Linked DNA regions of Homo sapiens: all the other regions are linked to region 3. The links are contacts of gene promoters, found by promoter capture Hi-C in blood cells and fetal thymus (Javierre and others, 2016). All regions are on one chromosome and are shown on one strand. The core of a region is centred on a gene start or on the middle of the fragment in contact, and the rest is flanking DNA. Distances in the headings are between cores, read along the strand shown. Region 1 holds the start of TLN1 (talin 1). Region 2 holds the start of HINT2 (histidine triad nucleotide binding protein 2). Region 3 holds the start of GALT (galactose-1-phosphate uridylyltransferase).

Region 1 (2,853 bases), core at 312-2,811, 1.1 Mb before region 3:
TCCTTTCCAAGGCCCAATACTAATGTTGCACTGATAATTTTGAGTTATTTTTTTAACAGAACACCAAAATTTGTATAAGCCCAACAAAAACGAGGATCTGCCCTTGCATCTGGCATATTGTGTACCTGCCTCAACTTCCTATTAGCAATAAATCTACTAAGTTTCTCACCTCAATCCTTTTTTAAAGTTATTGATATAAAGTTAACAGAATTTGCCTACTTGGGACTTTTAATCCCTTTTCAGCCTTTGTTCAACCAATGAGAGTCTTACCTTAGTGAGAGGAAGTGTCTCAGGCAGAATAAGCCCCTCCTTCTCCAATAGACTCTTCTCCTCATCTGTCAGTACTAGCCTAGCAATCTCCTAGGGTAACAAGAAAGTGGACGGCAGTTGCATGGGGATGTCAGAGAGGAATGGGGAATCCTGCCCCCACCTGGGGAATGTGAGAGTAATCTCCTGAAAATCAAGTCAAGTACCTGCTCTGCCAGCTCCTCCATATGCTGTGGAGTCATCTGGGTCCCCTCTTTTCTACAGCTCTCACTCTCTGCAAAAGGGAAAGTATGAATAGCCAGGCCCATGAACCCTGTCCTCCCCGCAAACTTATTTCAGACTCACCTAGATCCATAGAGACAGTTTCCCGTGGGAGGGAGTAGGTGTGGTCATGGTGGACAAGGCAGGGGTTGGAGGAGCTGAGAATGTTCAACGACGCTGGGGGACTCAGCAGGGAGCACAGCAAATCATCTACTTCCCAGTCGCTCGGTACCTGCGCAGGGTTCCAATGAACAGGCCTTGACCTTATCACCATCACCTGACTTCATGGACATCCCACGCTTTCCCCAGTCAGAACCCCAACCTACCTCAGAAAGCGGCAGCGCCCAGTCCAGTGGGGCCCTCACGGCCTCATCGGGTGCCGTCCCCAAATCTCCACTTTCCTCTAGCAGGAAGGCCAGCAGGTCTTGGTCACCAGCATCCAATTCCAGCTCCATTTGGGACAACTACGGAAAGGGTGGGCCACCGGGCCCCAACGTCCGAAGCCCAGACACGAGCCCCAGGCCAGCTGTAGGCCTCGGGCACCTATCCACTGTCCCTCTACGGCCGGGATTCCCCGCCGGCGGCTTTCCATAGCCCTCTCCGGACCCGCCTCCCAGGCTCAATTCTCCTCAGCCTCCAACGCAGCGAAAGTGACGCACCCCACCCCGTGGCACTGTGGGACTTGGAGTTCCCTCCAACTGAGAAGAGGCTTGGGTGCAGCGCCACGTCCCAGGGGCTATGCAAATGTAGGGGACGGCCCTGCTGCCGCCTCGCACCCCGAGGGCGGGGGTTCCGGGGCTCCGGCTCCGCCTTCTACCCCAAGCTAGAAAAAGGAAGAGTTCTAGCCTGAAAGGGAACTCGGGCGTCGTCCTGGCGTCCTCTCCGGATTGCGCCGCACCCTCGCTTCCTGCCAGGGAGGGGCTGCCGGGCTTTGGCGGCTCCCGAGCATCGAGAACGGGGCCAGAGCAGCTTCCTGCCTGCCCCCCGCGACCATAGAGCGCGGGCCCAGGGCGCCGCCCGCGGGTGGGGGACGTTCCCAGGACGGAAGTGGCCGAGAGAGTGTCGAAGGGAGGGCGAGGCCGGAGCCCGAGGGCGACCCGAGAAGCGGCGGGGCGGCGGGCCGGCGGGCGGGGCGCAGAGCCAGGCAGCGCAGGTAGGCCAGACCGGGCCGGGCGGGGGCCTTAGGGTGGGGCCGCGGGGCCTGGCCCCGGGGCGGGCGGGCCCTGCCTCTCTTGCGTGTCCGGTTCGGGTCCTATTAGTTGGAGAGGTCAGCGTCCAGCGCATCTCGGCTTGAGCTCGGCGTGAAGTAGGCCGTCTTGGGGAAGACAGGCCTTTCCTGGGAGCAGTCCTATGTCTGGGATAGGCTTTGGGGAGCGTGAGGAGTCGGGTGGCAGCGGGGCGCAGGGCGGGGACGGGCTTTGGTGTTAGCTGATAGCGGGCATGTGGGTAGGAAAGCTTTGGGTGAGTTGGGGATTAGGTGGGGTCCGTTTAGGAATCAAGGGTCGCTATAGGAGTTAAAAGCTGGGGTTAAAACTTAAGAGTTAGTGTGAGTCAGGTCCGTTTTAGATAGGTAAGGTTTAGATTACGGTCATTATCTTGTTTGCTGGGATGGCCATCATACGTCATAATTTGAGTTCAGGGTCAGGTTAAGGGTCAACAAACAACAGGAATCAGGTTAGAGCTTGTTTGAGGGATTAAAGAATGTTGGCATGGTCGGTGTTAAGGATAAACAGTGAAAGCGTGAGTTAGGAATCAAATTATAAATGAACTTTAGGCTTAGGGGTCAACATTTAGGGTTAACATCAGGGGATTTGGTGCTAAAGGCAAAACTTAGATCAGTTTCAGGGATCAGGGATTGGATATGAGTCTGTGCTAGGAAAGGGATGAATGTCCAAGCCGGTACTGGGAATCAGGAAACAAATTAGAGGTGGGGTTAATGTTAGGAATTTGGGGCAGCTTTAGGGGTTGTGGTTTGAGGCTAGCATAGTTGACCTTGAGCAGATAAAATTTAAGAGGTTGGCAGTAGGTAAATGCCCTTCTTTTGTAGGGAAATCCTTTATTCCTATGTAGTTACAGGGGCTTCTTTTTACCCAGAGAGATAAACTAATTTCAGGCTAGCGTTCTGGCTTTAGCTAGAATTGCAGGCATCTGGGATTCCAGCTTCTTTATTCCATTCTCTAAGCCCAAGGCCCTTGCTGTGGCCACCACAGTTAGGGGACAGAGATTCTGGACTGTGTTGTTTACAGACAACATAGGTGGGAAATAGGGACCCAGGATGTACAAGGCCTAGTCACAAGTTGGGGACTGCCTAGGGAAGAAGGAGCT
Region 2 (3,170 bases), core at 391-2,890, 1.2 Mb before region 3:
GGTTATATGCCCCATGATAACCATTCACCTAAAACTAATTCAACTAATAGTCAACAATAGAGTTAGGATTACTATGATAAACTCATTGAAGGAAATAATAAGCAGCCAATACAAACTATATTTACGTAGACTGTAAAAATATGAAAAATTGATTACACATGGGTTAGTATCATATGCAATACATATTACATATTATGAAAAAAAGACAGGAAACACCAAATGTTATTCATTCAACAATTACTGACCACCTATATGTATCAGGTCATGTGTTTAAAAAAAAAAAAAAGAAAAAAAGAAAAACCAAAGAAACAGTGGTAACTTGTCCTATGTGATATCAGACTAAAACTTACCTAGCGTCTGAGAATATTAGTATTTTGTGACCCCACGTTTCTTATGTCAAAAATATATATTCCAGCAGTGCAAACCTGACTTATTGGTGCCTCATACCTGTAATCCCAGCACCTTGGGAGGCCGAGGCAGGAGGATCACGAGGTCAGGAGATCGAGACCATCCTGGCTAACACGGTGAAACCCCGTCTCTAATAAAAATACAAAAAATTAGCCGGGCGTGGTGGCGGGTGCCTGTAGTCCCAGCTACTCGGGAGGCTGAGGCAGGAGAATGGCGTGAACTCGGGAGGCGGAGCTTGCAGTGAGCCGAGATCGCGCCACTGCACTCCAGCCTGGGCGACAGAGCGAGACTCCGTCTCAAAAAAAAAAAAAAAGAAAAAAGAAAAAAAGAAAAAAAAAGAAAACACCAGGCACCGAGCTAACTGTATCACACACCTTTTCCGATTAGAAAAGAACAATGAATACATACTCCTTTGCTTATTATAATTCTTGTGCGGCAAATATAGGACACTCTTATCTCCTCCTGCTCAAAAAAAAAAAATGCAAAAACCACAGACTTTTTAATCTATGGAGTGAATGCGTTAACAAGAACATAGAATTAAGGAAGAATTTCCCTTAGATAAGTACATTAAAATCTCCAAAATGCTCAAGGGACTGAAACTGCCCTTGTGGAGAAAATGCTGCGCATCAGCCCCGCCAGTTAAAACAAACAAACAAACACAAAAAAACACACCTCATCCCCGTTCACCTTTAGCCCCACCCCGGGTGGTTCTTGGAGCCAATAAGCGCCGGATGCCCTCAGAGCCCCGCCCTCCTCCTGGCCAAAGCGGTGAGAGGGTCTAAAACAGCCCTTTCTGCAGCAGGTGGCGGAGCCCCGCCCCCTTCTCCCCGCGCACCAATAGGAACCAGACCTGAAGAGGACGAACCAAGAACGAAAAGAACCACCCACTCGGGAGCCGCAACCTAGAAGCCAGAGTTGTGTATCAGATTCAACTAGGAGAAAATCCCACCTCCAGGCTCCATTAATCCTTCCAATGGAGTGGAAGTTTCTCTCACAGAGAAACTAGTAAGGGGATCCAATGGGAAAAGAACGTTCACACGGACTAGAAGACGAAACCAATGGAATGGAAAATTGTCCTCGCGTTGGTAGAAGCAGCCAATGAGATGAAAAGAGCCCGCCTCCAAAGTGGCTGCAGAGGCAATGGGGTGAATCGTGCTCAGAGGCGCGCTCCAATGGGGTAGCAGGGCTCGCCCGGCCGCCACTACCCCGCTTCCCCGCGCCCGGAGTCCCCACCCACGGCCGGCCGCGGAGCCGAGTGCTGACCCGGGTGAGAGGTTCCCGCGGCTCAGGGAAGATGGCGGCAGCCGTGGTGCTGGCTGCTGGGTTGCGCGCGGCGCGCAGAGCCGTGGCGGCCACGGGGGTGCGCGGGGGGCAGGTGAGAAGTGGCGCGGGAGCGAGTAGGGGGTCCTGCGGGCTCCGAAGCCATCCGGGGCCAGGGGGTCCCGAAGGCGCGCAGAGCCGCGCAGAGCTCCTGCCTGTGGCCTCTGCCCCTCCGAGGCACAAGCTCCGGGGCTGTGTGGTGAGGTCGAACTGGTGGCTCCGGAGAACGAGCTGGTGCTGATTCCCGCCCTGCGCAGGCCGGGGCGCCGAGGTCGGGACAGGGTCAGTGCAGCGGCTGCCGCCTTCTTTCCACTGCCTGCAGCCCAGCTGGCCCGATGCCCCCTGCAGGAAATGAGCTTTCTCTTCTTGGAGCCAGTGCTCTGCCCTCCTCAGGCTTCTGGCCTCCTAATGAGCACTAGTGTTAACCTCTCTTCTGCACTTGCCAGAAGCGGCTCGGAGGTCAGAGAATTCATTCCGTCCCGTTCTCCCCCAACGTGATGCAATGACATCAGCCTTCTCTGAATCCCTTACCCGAAGTTCCCTGGGGCTAGGGGAGCAGAGGTCACTTAGCTGAACTCTTACCTCCACTCATTCAAGGGACAAGAGTTAAAATTCACAGAGTCACATGTGACACCCAGATGAGGGGTCAACTAGTGTCAAACAGGGCGATTGCATTAAAACTTAAATAAAACAGGCGACAAGGCTTAAAGATCAGAAAACAAGTAACGGAAATAAGTGGAAATGTACTAACAAGGTGAGAGTGGAAAGAGATTCAAGCCATCGCAAGAGATTATGGAAACCATCCCTTTATTTTATATTAGAAGCTGAGAGAAGGAATTTATCTGAGGTAATTCAGTGGTATGGTAAGGTAGGAACTGAGACCAAAATCCCCAGTCTCTCATTCTAGATCCTTTCCCTAAACAGTGCTATATTTCGTGGACACATGAGCAGGAATCAATTGCACTGCTGAATCCTGATAATAATACCGCCTGTTATCTAACCAGGTCCAGCACCTTCTGGCCCTACCCTTTGCTGCTGGTGCTCTGAAATTCAGGAACTTTCCTCCTGGGTGGGAACGATGAATAGGTTATTAGAAGGACGAAATTAACAACTATCAGAGCCCAGCTTCTGCCAGCTCCCTCCTTTGAATATGGTCGATCCACCTTCAGGTCCGAGGAGCTGCAGGTGTGACTGATGGGAATGAAGTGGCCAAGGCCCAGCAGGCAACTCCTGGGGGAGCAGCCCCAACCATCTTCTCCCGGATCCTGGACAAGAGCCTCCCAGCTGACATTCTCTATGAGGACCAGCAGGTGGGGTGCTCTTAGGACCTATCCCCTTAGGAATGTTGTAGATACCATCCAACCTGTTGAAGTAACGTGGCCTCTGGCCTGTCACTTCCCCCAGTGTCTTGTGTTCCGTGATGTGGCCCCTCAGGCTCCTGT
Region 3 (2,994 bases), core at 1-2,500:
CTGGCAGGAAACTGCTGGCCCATACCTGTCAAGGGGCAAAAGCAGAGAAGAACAGGCAGGTCCTTTACCTCCAAGCCTCCACATCATTGGCATATTTCCTCTGTCCCATCCATTAATCCTGTTCCCATGTCCACAGTGCTGGCTCAGACTCAGCCAAGAAACCCACTGGAGCCCCTGACACCCTTACCTGGCAGTGGGGGTGGGGGTTAGAACAGCCCATCATGGCACCTTTGTTTTCAAAGATCTATCAGATAGGGATACGGAGCTCTGTTAGCCAAAAGACACCAAGTCAACTCCCTCCTGACCACACCCTGTGGAAACAGAAATGTTACTCCCCAGAACCAAAGCTTCATCACCCCCTCCCTGCCCATCCAGGGGAAGGGGCGACCTCACAAACCTGCACCCAAGGGTACTGGGCACCCAGCTCCTCTGTGACTGAGGCCCATGCATCAACAACAGCCCGGATCTCAGGGACCGACATGAGTGGCAGCGTTACATCCGACCAGGGGTGGAAGCACATGACCTTACTGGGTGGTGACGGGAGAAAAGATAACCGAGAGGTAGGGCTTGGCTGTGCTACGGGCAGGGCCGAACCCCAATGCTGAGTCTCCAACTCTGGTTTGAAAGTTGTAAGAGGGGAAATCCATAGTTACCAGACTCCTCGAGCAGACTTTGCTTGGAAAAGGGGATGATCACTGGGTCCTGAGGTAAAGGAGTATCACTCTCTGCAGCAGAAGTCCCTCAAGAGGTCTAGCCACCCTCCTCCCCAGCAGCAGTTGGAGCCAGGTTACCTGGACTGGGGGCATCAGGCTGCAGAGCTGGGAAGTCGTTGTCAAACAGGAAGGTGCTATCGTACTGGGGATTCACCTACCGACAAGGATAGGCTAGAAGCACTCACTGCCCCATACCACCAGTTACCTGGTGGGCTTCAAAGACTGGACAGGCTACAAGGGAGTAGGGAAGGCCCACCCTAGGGGACCAAAAAGCTTGGTGGGATATGACCCAGAAGGAGGTTCACTATCCCTGTGGGTGGAGGACAGTTCTAAGAGGGAACTACTCCCCGTGGCCCAGCCTGCAGATGCAGGGCTCTACAGGCTTACCTCTCCGTTGGCTCGGATGGCCCCAGGACACAGAGGGTTGAGAGGGTCATGGCGGGGCACTGTCTTCAGAAGCTGGGGCTCCACTTGACCCTGCCAGGGCCGCTTCATGCGGTGAGCTGACACCAGCACCCACTCATCCTGCAGCGGGTTGTAGCGGATATGCTGATGGTCTGGGGGCAGACAGTCAAGATCAGTCCTCAGAGCTCTCTAGCTCCCTCTCTCCTGGGTCTCACCCACCAGCAGGCCCAAGCTCGGGAGCGCCCTCTCGGCCCTGTCCCGCTCAGGAGCTAGAGGCCCAGGATTGGACTTTCCCAGCGCCAATTGGCCTGCTGCTCGTACAGGCCTGCAGACTGTACGCCTTGTCGGTCTGGCTCGGGATGAGCGTTCCAACCTTCGGAGGGGACGAAAGCTTCCTAAGGAAGGGGAGGGCTCGGCTCCGCGCCCCAGCGAGTCCCTGCCGCGGTGCAGTTACCGTTTGCCCGGAAGGTTGCTGCTGCGGCGTCCGCCTCTGACGCCTGCTGGCGTTGCTGAGGATCGGTTCCACTGCGCGACATGAGGCCACCGGGGGATCCGCTGGAAAATCTGCAGGGCCGTGCCTCACCTTTCACTTTCTCCGTCCACACCACCCCTCCCCGCGCCGCCCCCGATGATTGGCCAGCCGCCAGCACGTGACTGACTGACTGGGCTGCCCTGCCACCTGGGGGCGGGGCTCAGAACAGCTGTGAACCCTGGGGGCCGACATTGATGATCCTACTTCACCCAGAGCTAGAGCCACTACACTGGAAGAACCTCTGTGAAAGCTGCCTACTGCAGAATCCTTGGGCTCCAGGATGCCTACAGGACTTGCTTGCTGCAATCATTCATTTGATCTTTCATTCAGCAAATATTTACCAAGCATCTAGCATGTGCTAGGCACCTAGGCTGTGTAAAGCATTGGGATGCACATGTCAGGCATGGCCTCTGCCCTGCCTGAGCTTACATTCTAGGGCGAGTAAGGATATGACCCTGGATCAACAGCGCCTCAGTCACCTGCTCAGTGGCTGTAGCGCAGGAGAGGCAAACTTGGTGGGGTCTGTGTGGAGTACTTCACCATAACCATATCCTATCCCCAAAAGCAAAAACAGATTTGGGAAAAAGGGCTAAGTAACCATATTCTCTTTTTCTCTCACTCTTGCTCTCCTTCCTCTCTCTCTCTCTCTCTTTTTCATACACACACCAAGACAGCACAAGAAGTGGGAGGGGTAAAAGGGCTATAAAAAAAAATCTAAAAATGGCCGGGCTCGGTGGCTCACGCCTGTAATCCCAACACTTTGGGAGACCAAGGCAGGCGGATCACAAGGTCAAGAAATTGAGACCATCCTGGCCAACATGGTGAAACCCCGTCTCTAGTAAAAAAAAAAAAAAAAAAAATTAGCTGGTCTTGGTGGCGTGCACCTGTAGTCCCACCTACTCGGGAGGCTGAGGCAGGAGAATCACTTGAACCCAGGAGGCAGAGGTTGCAGTGAGCCGAGATTGTGCCCATGCACTCTAGCCTGGCGACAGAGCAGACTCCGTCACAAAAAAAAAAAAAAAAGTACAAGAAAGTCTAAAAATGTGGAGAGTACAGGACTATCAGAAGCTCCAGCCACCATCTAGGTGGGGCCTAGTGTTTCCTTTACACATCCCCTTCCCTTTTCTAAATTTTCCTTGGATGGGACCAATTGGCTAACACTAGGATAAAATTCAAATTAATTCCTCCCCTGGTACTTTTGTTTGTTTGTTTGTTTGAGAGAGAGTCTCACTCTGCCACCCAGGCTGGAGTGCAGTGGCGTGATCTTGGCTCACTGCAACCTCCACCTCCCAGGTTCAAGCGATTCTCCTGCCTCAGCCTCCAAGTAGCTGGAATTAGAGCTGT

What was found. The method cuts DNA at HindIII sites, captures the fragments that hold promoters and counts their contacts. A CHiCAGO score of 5 or more calls a contact.
Region 1: a contact is called between the fragment with the promoter of TLN1 here and a fragment that was not itself captured in region 3, in 1 of 17 cell types (erythroblasts). The highest score is 6.0, in erythroblasts.
Region 2: a contact is called between the fragment with the promoter of HINT2 here and a fragment that was not itself captured in region 3, in 1 of 17 cell types (erythroblasts). The highest score is 5.9, in erythroblasts.

The regions. Positions count from the first base shown.
Region 1 is chr9:35,730,903-35,733,755 of GRCh38, reverse strand. It overlaps TLN1 (talin 1), which reads left to right and starts at 1,561. Exons shown (of 57, transcript NM_006289.4): 1 at 1,561-1,681. CREB3 (cAMP responsive element binding protein 3) reads right to left here and starts at 1,090. Exons shown (of 9, transcript NM_006368.5): 1 at 855-1,090; 2 at 613-760; 3 at 474-541; 4 at 271-360. The coding sequence starts at 983. MIR6853 (microRNA 6853) reads right to left here and starts at 834; the gene lies at 761-834. RefSeq lists enhancers at 965-1,054, 1,105-1,154, 1,955-2,004 and silencers at 1,285-1,444, 1,485-1,774. The HindIII fragment of the contact is 10,307 bases long and covers 1-1,985 here.
Region 2 is chr9:35,813,512-35,816,681 of GRCh38, reverse strand. HINT2 (histidine triad nucleotide binding protein 2) reads left to right here and starts at 1,640. Exons shown (of 5, transcript NM_032593.3): 1 at 1,640-1,783; 2 at 2,898-3,038; 3 at 3,133-3,170. The coding sequence starts at 1,703. It overlaps FAM221B (family with sequence similarity 221 member B), which reads left to right. Exons shown (of 7, transcript NM_001012446.4): 7 at 1-291. RefSeq lists silencers at 998-1,177, 1,508-1,827 and an enhancer at 1,268-1,447. The HindIII fragment of the contact is 5,278 bases long and covers 1-3,170 here.
Region 3 is chr9:34,645,365-34,648,358 of GRCh38, reverse strand. GALT (galactose-1-phosphate uridylyltransferase) reads right to left here and starts at 1,684. Exons shown (of 11, transcript NM_000155.4): 1 at 1,573-1,684; 2 at 1,101-1,270; 3 at 792-867; 4 at 654-702; 5 at 398-527; 6 at 188-244; 7 at 1-25. The coding sequence starts at 1,654. RefSeq lists enhancers at 1,080-1,259, 1,830-1,939. The HindIII fragment of the contact is 523 bases long and covers 989-1,511 here.